Linked DNA regions of Homo sapiens: regions 1 and 2 are each linked to region 3. Evidence: promoter capture Hi-C in human tissues and cell types (Jung and others, 2019). All regions are on one chromosome and are shown on one strand. Each heading gives the region's core, a stretch centred on a gene start or on the middle of the fragment in contact. The rest is flanking DNA. Distances are from core to core; before and after follow the strand shown. Region 1 overlaps PITX1-AS1 (PITX1 antisense RNA 1). Region 2 overlaps CDKN2AIPNL (CDKN2A interacting protein N-terminal like). Region 3 holds the start of PCBD2 (pterin-4 alpha-carbinolamine dehydratase 2).

Region 1 (3,066 bases), core at 396-2,895, 280 kb before region 3:
CTTGGCAGAGCCTGTGGCCACACATCTGCCCAGACGCCTGGGCAGGAGACTCTGCCAAGGAAGCACTGTTGACCAGCTTCTTGGGCTCCTGTTGGGAGAGGGAAGGTAGGTTCCCTCTAGGATGTGGCTGGAGGACACAGAACTGGTCCCCACTCATTCCTGAGACCACCACCTGTCTGGGGACAGGGTCCTTGCCAGGGGGAAGCCCAAAAGCCACCTCTGGCCTCCTGTGAATGCAGACTCGGCAGTCTCGACTCGCCTCCCTAACTCCTGGCTCGTGCTTTGCATTTTCTCTCTCCCTCATCTGAACTCAAGGCAAGACACTGCCAATTGAACCGGGAGACAGCTGCCAATTAATAATAATATCAATGATACAAATCATTGACAGTTTTGTAAAGCTTACCTTGTGCTAAGCATCGTAAGCTCATTCTTCATCATACTGAGTCATAGCCACCCTTTGTGGTAGGTATCAATATCCACCCCATTGTTTAGATGAATAACCTGAGGCTAAGGGCAACTTACCCCAGATCACACGGCAACTTCATACATTTTCTTTACTTTACAAGCACTCACATAGCTCTTATTTTGTGCCAGGACTGTTCTAAATGGTTTTAAACTATTAACTGGTTAAATCCTCAATGCAACCCTGAGTAATAGGTATTCTTCTTCTTCTTCTTTTTTTTTTTTTTTTTGAGACAGAGTCTTGCTCTGTCACCCAGACTGGAGTGCAATGGCGCGATCTTGGCTCACTGCAACCTCCGCCTCCCCAGTTCAAGCAATTTTCCTGCCCCAGCCTCCAGAGTAGCTGGGATTACCGGCACCCACCATCATGCCCAGCTAATTTCTGTATTTTTGTAGAGACGGGGTTTCACTATGTTGGCCAGGCTGGTCTCAAACTCCTGACCTCAGGTGATCCACCCACCTCAGCCTCCCAAACTGCTGGGATTACAGTTGTGAGCCACTGCGCCCAGCCTTCTTATTTTAAAACGAGCAAACAGACACAGAGAAGTTACTTGTCCTGGGTCGAACAGCCAGTAAGCGACTAAGCCAAGATTCCAACATGCGCAGTCTGACTCCAAAACCCAAGTTCTTAGCCTCTCCATGGGGCTAACAGCAGTCTCTAACAAAAGAAGGAAAAGGAAGTGCCGCTGTGAGAGGGAACAGCCGTGGCACTGTGCTGATGTGAAAAGCGCACAGGTCCACAGCCCAGAGGCCCGGGCCCCAGCACCAGCTCTGCTGTGTGGTGACTGGGAGGCCTCACCACCTGGATGCTAAGGTGACTGGTGGGGACCAGGGACCCTCCAAGGTCTCAAAGTCAGCCTCTAGAAGATTCATGGGGGGTAGGTAATTCTGCCAAGAGCCCTAGAAGACTGGGGGTGCCCTGCTCTGCTCCTCCCCAGCCCTACTCCCACCCTTCCTCACCTTCCCCCTTGAGCCAGGCCTGGGGGGATTCTCTACTGGGGAATTCATATACATCCCCTTCCTCTGCATGAATGCTCAGGCTCCTAACTCCACACACAACCAATTCAAATGACGTTCCCATTTCTGCCAGTCCCCTGCAAAACCAATGGGGGCAGAATACAGAAGGGCACGCAAAATGAAAATCCTGCAACGGTATATTCCTTCTCATGTATATGTTTAAAATATGTCCAAAAAATAAAAATATCCCCCAACCCACCCACATAAACACACTGCCATAAACAGCTGAAGTGCTCCGTGTGGAAAATCCATCAGGGTAACTATGGACAAAGCCATTCAGGCTCAGCCCTAGTCTAGCCTAGGGCCTCAGAGTCCTCAGCCTCCCTTTGCTCAGGGCTGGGCCAGCAGCTGGCTGTGGGACCACGTGGAGGCTTCCTTGCTCTCCATGTTTCCTATGGCTCAATGGCTCTGTCCACTGTCTCCCAGCCTTGAACAACCTCCAAACATCTGGGCTAGGCCATGCTCACTAAATTCTATTCGTAACCTCCAAAATCAACACTTATGATTGCTTTCATGGTCATTTGCAGACATGCATAGAGTACTGAAACACCTGAGTCACCTGATGTACAAGTGTCCAGCTGAAGTTAAACCCTCTGCCTTCTTGTCTCAGCTCATACTGTAAACAAGTGTCCTTTCTTTCTTTTTTTTTTCTTTTTTTTTTTTTTAAGATGGAGTTTGCTTTTGTTGCCCAGGCTGGAGTGCAGTGGTACAATCTCGGCTCACTGCAACCCCCGCCTCCCAGGTTCAAGGGATTCTGTTGCCTCAGCCCCTGAGAAGCTGAGATTACAGGTGTTCACCACCAGGGCCAGCTAATTTTTACTATTTTTAGTAGAGATGGTTTTTCACCATGTTTGGTCAGGCTGATCTCAAACTCCTGATCTCAAATGATCCTCCTGCCTTGGCCTCCCAAAGTGCTGGGATTACAGGCATGAGCCGCCACACCCAGACAACAAGTATCCTTTCTGCTGTGTGTAGGGTTATGTGTTTTTTCTTTTTTCTTATATTATTGTTCTTTTTGTTGGTGGTTTTGCTGTTTAAAATAGCCCCCAAGAATACTTCTGTGAAATGTTCCTAAGAGCAAGAAGGCCATGATGTACTTTATAGAGAAAATAGTTGTGTTAGAGCAGGGGCTTCCAATCTTTTGGCCTCCCTGGGCCACATTGGAAGAAGAATTGTCTTGGGCCACACGTAAAGTACACTAACACTAACGATAGCTAATGAGCTAAAAAAAAATCGTCAAAAAAAATCTCATAATGTTTTTAAAAAGTTTATGAATTTGTGTTGGGCCACATTCAAAGCTGTCCTGGGCCTCATGCAGCCTGCAGGCCACGGGTTGGACAAGCTGTGTTAGATGATAAGCATGAGTTACAACGCTACTGGCCATGAAGTCGATGTTTCTGAATCATCAACATATATTAAATAAGGTGCTTTAAACAGTAACACACATAAAACAAGGTTATGTATTGATCAGTTGACAAAAATGTGACCAGAAGCTCACAGGAACCTAACTTTGTATTGTCCCTAGGAGCAGTGGTTTAGTATTTGCTAATTCGGTGTTGGTGGGGACTTTATAGAACATAACTAGTG
Region 2 (2,700 bases), core at 37-2,536, 500 kb after region 3:
CAGGTGTGAGTGCCGGTGTGAGTGCCGACCTGACTTGTTTGGCTTCTGTGATTTGCTGATAAGAACGTGCCTGGAGCAATGTCGATGGCATAGCTGTTCTCTACCCTTTGGGGTCTGATCTCAGGCGATGGGCTTTTTACAGTGAGTCTTGCCTAGAGTCTTGAATCTGGACACTGGAGCTGGGGCTACAGAATGTGGCAGAAAGAACCTCAGAATATGGAGCTGGGCATCCCAGCTATTAATACTTTTCAGAATCACCTCCAAAACATGCTTGTTTCACATTTGTCTGCTCAGGCAGCAGAATTAATTGCTCGCTTATCTTCTGAAGTTCCTTTGGCACTTTATCCAGGGCTCTTTTAAAGCAGTTGTGACCTTACAGATGGTGTCTAAAGTTCTATTTAGTCTTTACAACTCCCAAACCTAGTATACTTATACCCCAGAGAAGGTACTCAGAAAATACTTATAAAATCGACTGAAGCAGTAGAGTAAAAAGCTGCTGGCCCCTTTTTAGGTCTGCCCTTAGAAACATAGGTAAGCCCATTCCTCCACATTTAGGTCTTGTCTTGGGAGGTGGGGCACATATAGAGGTCCTCTTCCATATGGGTGTCAAGGAACTAATCAGATTCTCAGTTGCTCATAAAGTATTTCAGTCCCAAATAGTACACCCCACTTGATTTTCAGGATGGTTTGTTTTTCTTAAAAAAGTATTCTTTTAGTTTTAATCTGAACCTGGGGAAAAGCTTCAGGTTGGTTTTCGAGATGCTATTATGTTTTAAAATCAGCTGTTACCTCAACACAGTACTCCTGACAAAAAATCAGTAAGTAAAATCAGCTGTTTTTTTGTTTTTGTTTGTTTGTTTGTTTGTTTTTGAGAGGGAGTCTCCCTGTGTCGCCCAGGCTGGAGTGAGGTGGTGCGATCTGGGCTCACTGCAAGCTCTGCCTCCCAGGTTCACACCATTCTCCTGCCTCAGCCTCCTGAGTAGCTGGGACTACAGGCGCCTGCCACCACGCCCAGCCAATTTTTTTTTTTTTTTTTTTTTTGTATTTTTAGTAGAGACGGGGTTTCACCGTGTTAGCCAGGATGGTCTCGATCTCCTGACCTCGTGATCCGCCCGCCTCGGCCTCCCAAAGTGCTGGGATTACAGGTGTGAGCCACCGCACCAGGACTAAAATCAGCTGTTAAAAAGGGGCTACTGTTTTTAGCCAGGGAGCAGTGTGAATTGGGAGTGTGTGGCTTTTTGGATCTTCTCATGTAATACTTAAAAAAATACTGGGCAGTCCTTGGGTGTTCTATAGTAAGGTTCTTGGGGCCCAGCCAGGGAGGAGCTAGATAGTTTCTGGCTACTGGAGTATACCTTATGGGGCAGGGGCAGGGGCAGAGGTAGGCAGGGAATGAGGTGAGCCTTTATTTTTAATTTATTTTTTAGATAGAGGCTCACTTTGTCACCCAGGCTGGAGTGCAGTGGCACGATCTCAGCTCACTGCAACCTCTGCCTCCCAGGCTCAAGTGATTCTAGCGCCACAGCCTCCCCAGTAGCTGGGATTACAGCCGGGTGCCACCATACCCAGCTAATTTTTGTATTTTTAGTAGAGAAAGGGTTTTGCCATGTTGTCCAGGCTGGTCTTGAACTCCTGGCCTCAAGTGATCTGCCCAGCTTCCCAAAGTGCTAGGATTACAGGCGTGAGCCACTGCACCTGGCCGAGCCTTTATTTTTTAACTGCTTGTGATAGATTCTTTCCTTTTTGTTTCTAAGAGGTTTTCTGATTTTCCTTTTTTTTTTTTTTTGAGATGGAGTTTTGCTCTTGTTGCCCAGGCTGGAGTGCAATGGTTCAGCTCACTGCAACCTCTGCCTCGCGAGTTTAAGCGATCCCTTGCCTCAGCGTCCCAAGAAGCTGGGATTACAGGCGCCTGCCACCACGCGCGGCTATTTTTTGTATTTTTTAGTAGAGATGAGGTTTCACCATGTTGGCCAAGTTGTTCTCGAACTCCTGACCTCAGGTGATCCACCCACCTCAGCTTCCCAAAGTGCTGGGATTACATGCGTTAGCCACTGTGCCCAGCAAGGTTTTCTGATTTTTTATATCAGTTCTCCATTATACTTCTCTGTCTTATATGTTTTCTGAAAGGTATCTGAACTCTTTCCAGTCATGTTGGGTATTAGAGATCAGAACACCTAATGACATTGGGCTGCAGACCCCAGTAGGAGACTAAGGAGGTTTGGCACGTCCCAAACATTATCTATAGACCAGTGTGAAGTGTGTGTGTGTGTGTGTGTGTGTGTGTGTGTGTGTGTGTGTTAGGAAGGGTCTTTCTGAAACATCCTAAAGGGGTCTTATACCTAAAAAATGTACAGAGCCCCTGCCCTGGGATGTTCATTCTTGACACTGTCATTGCACAGTGTGAGTCTACAGAGAAGAGTCCTCAGGCATGAAATTATCTTCTTGAAACCAGTGCCGCCATCTTACTAATCATTAGCAGTTAGCTATGTGGAAGAAGCCTATATAGAGGCCATACTTCTATAGCATTTTTGAATTGTGTGTTGCAACTTCCTTCAAATAAAACTTATGTTTTTCTAAGTAGCCAGGTTTAACTTTAGTCTGTTGATGCCACTCTAAGTGAAATTCAGCTGATCCTGAAAAGTGAGATACTTAGAGGGTGCATAGAGTTTTGCCAGTTTTGTTTTCAGACAGGGGTCTCTC
Region 3 (3,089 bases), core at 370-2,869:
CTGCCAAGATTTTTTGAAAGGCTTAGATTACAGATCTTGAATGTGAGGGTACCTAGCATTGAGCCTGGCATGGGGCAGCGCTCAAATCATGTCTGTTGACTCATTCCTTCCCAGAACACCCTAATCTTACTGGATCACTAGCACCTGGGGCAGAGTACGCCTGAAGACACGCCTAGGTGACAGTAGGCACTCAACTTGTGTTCTCCCCTTCGTGGACAAGAAGCGGCGGAGTGCCTATCTTCCTCCGTCTTCGAGCTATTTTAAATTTCTTCTATTACAGCACTTTGGGAGGCCGAGGAGGGTGGATGACGAGGTCAGGAGATCGAGACCATCCTGGCTAACACGGTGAAACCCCGCCTCTACTAAAAATACAAAAAAATTAGCCGGGCGTGGCGACGGGCGCCTGTTGTCCCAGCTACTCGGGAGGCTGAGGCAGGAAAATGGCGTGAACCCGGGAGGCGGAGCTTGCAATACGCCGAGATCGCGCCACTGCACTCCAGCCTGGGTGACGGCGTGATTCTCCTTCTCAAAAAAAAAAAAAAAAAAAAAAAAAAATTCTTCTATTAAAGAATTTCAGGCCAGGCGCAGTGGCTCGCGCCTGTAATCCCAGCACTTTGGGAGGCCGAGGCAGGTAGATCACCTGAGGTCAGGAGTTCGAGACTAGCCTGGCCAACATGGCGAAAACCCCTCTCTACTAAAAATATAAAAAATTACCTGGGCGAAATGGCACGCGCCTGTAATCGCAGCTACTCGGGAGGGTGAGGCAGGAGAATAGCGTGAACCCAGGAGATGGAGGTTGCAGTGAGCCGAGATCGCGCCACTCCACTCCGGGCTCGGCGATACAGCGAGACTCCGTGTCGAAAAAACAAAACAAAACAAAACATTTCAAACTGAAATGGGCGGTTAAAATGCAACTTAAAATGAGATGGTGAGTTTAACGCACCACTTTTCCACTAGGTGGTGCTGCATGTTAAAACTTTCCCTCCATTTACTCCAAAATATTAATTTCTACAGCAGGAAAACTGACGGCCCCTTGGAAAAGGAAAGAAAAGTCAATATGTCACCAAAAAAGACAATTTATTAATAACTCCTCCAAAACCTCTGTGGGTTCCCCTTGGAGTGAAGCGCGAGCAGGGAGCCGCCATAGGGAGCCAGGCCCGCAGCGCCGTTCGTCCTCAGCACAACGAGCGGCAGCGGGCACCGAATTGTTCTGCAACTACTTTTCACATCTGCCTTTTGTAGTTGCTGAACAAAATTCGTTCCCATTTGTTTCCGGTTGGCAAGTTCGTAGGCTTCGGCGGAAGTGTAAAGTCAAGGGCAAGTGGCGGAGGCTGCGGCCACCCCGGTCTCTGAGCGGCGCACCGGACAGGTGGTCAGTCCCGGGACGCGGTGACCCGACGCCCGAGCTCCAAGGCTCGGCCCACGCCGGGTTCGCCCCAGTCCCGCTGGTCCCTCAGCCGACGCCGCCGGGCCTCGCACCGCCCCCCGACCCCGGACCCCCACCCACGCGGCCGCTGTGCACTCACCATGGCCGCTAGCCCTAGGCTCTGGCCTCGCAGCGCCGCCAACAAGCGCCGCGTCGCCCCGAGCGCCCCGAGCACCGCCGCCATTGGCCGTCTGCCGAGGGCTGCCCCGCGCGCTGCCTGCCGGCCGCCCACAGCCGCCCCCGACCCGACCACGCCCAGCTACCGCCAGCCCTGGTAGTCTCCCTGCGGGGCTGGCCCGGAGCGGGGTCTGTGTGTGGGAAGCGCCCAGCCTTCCCGCGGGCACAGGCGCAGCCCGGACCCCGAACACCCCCAGGAGCTTCAGCGGTCGCCAGCGCCCTTGGCCGCCAGGTGGACTCTGCGCGCCCCACAGCCGTAGGCCCAGCAGGCGCGCGCGGTCCCCGCCCCGTGCGGGCCCGTCGCGTCTGTGCCCGGGACGCAGGTCGCCCGGCGCGCGCTGGCCTTGCCCTCCGGTCCTCGCTGCGCTAGGAGGAACTTCGCCCAGCCTCGGGCGCCGGCCTCCTCCGCTTCGCGGGCGCTAGCACCGAGCTGGGCTCCCCGCTTGGCGGCGCTGCGCGCAGTCCATGCGGGCAGGAGGATGTCGTAGGCCAGGGCGGGGCAGTTGAGCGGCGGGGCTGGGGCAGTGAACCACGGCAGTTCCCATCGGGGGCTCCTAAGTCTTGCAGTAGTGGGTTCGAACGCAGCCTCTGTTCAGTCATCACGCAGCTGCCAAGTTCTTGAGCCAGCTGGCTCGTCTGGGTTTGCCTGGACCAAAAAGTGTGGAAACCCGGCCTGTAATCCCCTCCCAAACGTGTCCGTGCCCTGTTTACCCCCAGGCTCAGCACACAGTAGGAGCTCTGCAGACAGCTGTGAACAGATTTAGGTGAATCTTTTCTTGTATCATTTTTGGGGAGGTATTCTTTCATTCTTTTTTTTTTTTTTTTTTTGACTTTTTTGAGATGTAATTGACATACTATTAAGAATACTCACTTGTATCTTTTTTTTTTTTTTTTTTTTTTGAGACGGAGTCTCGCTCTGTCGCCCAGGCTGGAGTGCAGTGGCGCGATCTCGGCTCACTGCAAGCTCCGCCTCCCGGGTTCACGCCATTCTCCTGCCTTAGTCTCCCGAGTAGCTGGGACTACAGTCACCCGCCACCACGCCCGGCTAATTTTGTTTTTGTATGTTTAGTAGAGACGGGGTTTCACAGTGTTAGCCAGGATGGCCTCAATCTCCTGACCTCGTGATCCGCCCGCCTCGGCCTCCTAAAGTGCTGGGATTACAGGCGTGAGCCACCGCGCCCGGCCTCTTTTTTGTTTGTTTTTAACTGAATAGTTTAAGCAGGCCAGGCATGGTGGCCCGCACCTGTAATCACAGCACTTTGGGAGGACAAGGCAGGAGGATCACTTGAGGCCAGATGTTCGAGATCTGCCTGGGCAACATGGCAAAACCCCATCTCTATTAAAAATACAAAAATTAGCCACGCGTGGTGGCACGTGCTGGTAGTTCCAGCTATCCGTGAGGCTGAGATGGGAGGATGGCTTGAGCCCGGGAGGCTGCAGTGAGCTGAAATCACGCCACTGCATTCCATCGACAGCAAAATACCCT

Evidence for each region. The method cuts DNA at HindIII sites, captures the fragments that hold promoters and counts their contacts. A contact is called where the count stands out against the background at its distance.
Region 1: a fragment that was not itself captured here is called in contact with the fragment with the promoter of PCBD2 in region 3 in 1 of the 25 tissues and cell types used here (IMR-90 fibroblasts).
Region 2: a fragment that was not itself captured here is called in contact with the fragment with the promoter of PCBD2 in region 3 in 1 of the 25 tissues and cell types used here (dorsolateral prefrontal cortex).

What each region holds. Positions count from the first base shown.
Region 1 is chr5:135,181,069-135,184,134 of GRCh38, reverse strand. All of the region lies in intron 3 of PITX1-AS1 (PITX1 antisense RNA 1), which reads right to left. Among named protein-coding and RNA genes, the nearest start is that of LINC02900, 66 kb to the left of the region's middle. The HindIII fragment of the contact is 5,242 bases long and covers 1-3,066 here.
Region 2 is chr5:134,406,855-134,409,554 of GRCh38, reverse strand. The region is part of intron 2 of CDKN2AIPNL (CDKN2A interacting protein N-terminal like); the gene reads left to right. Among named protein-coding and RNA genes, the nearest start is that of CDKN2AIPNL, 3.7 kb to the left of the region's middle. The HindIII fragment of the contact is 4,343 bases long and covers 1-2,700 here.
Region 3 is chr5:134,903,661-134,906,749 of GRCh38, reverse strand. It overlaps PCBD2 (pterin-4 alpha-carbinolamine dehydratase 2), which reads right to left and starts at 1,619. Exons shown (of 4, transcript NM_032151.5): 1 at 1,527-1,619. The coding sequence starts at 1,610. RefSeq lists enhancers at 536-1,121, 1,122-1,706 and a silencer at 1,304-2,063. The HindIII fragment of the contact is 17,365 bases long and covers 1-3,089 here.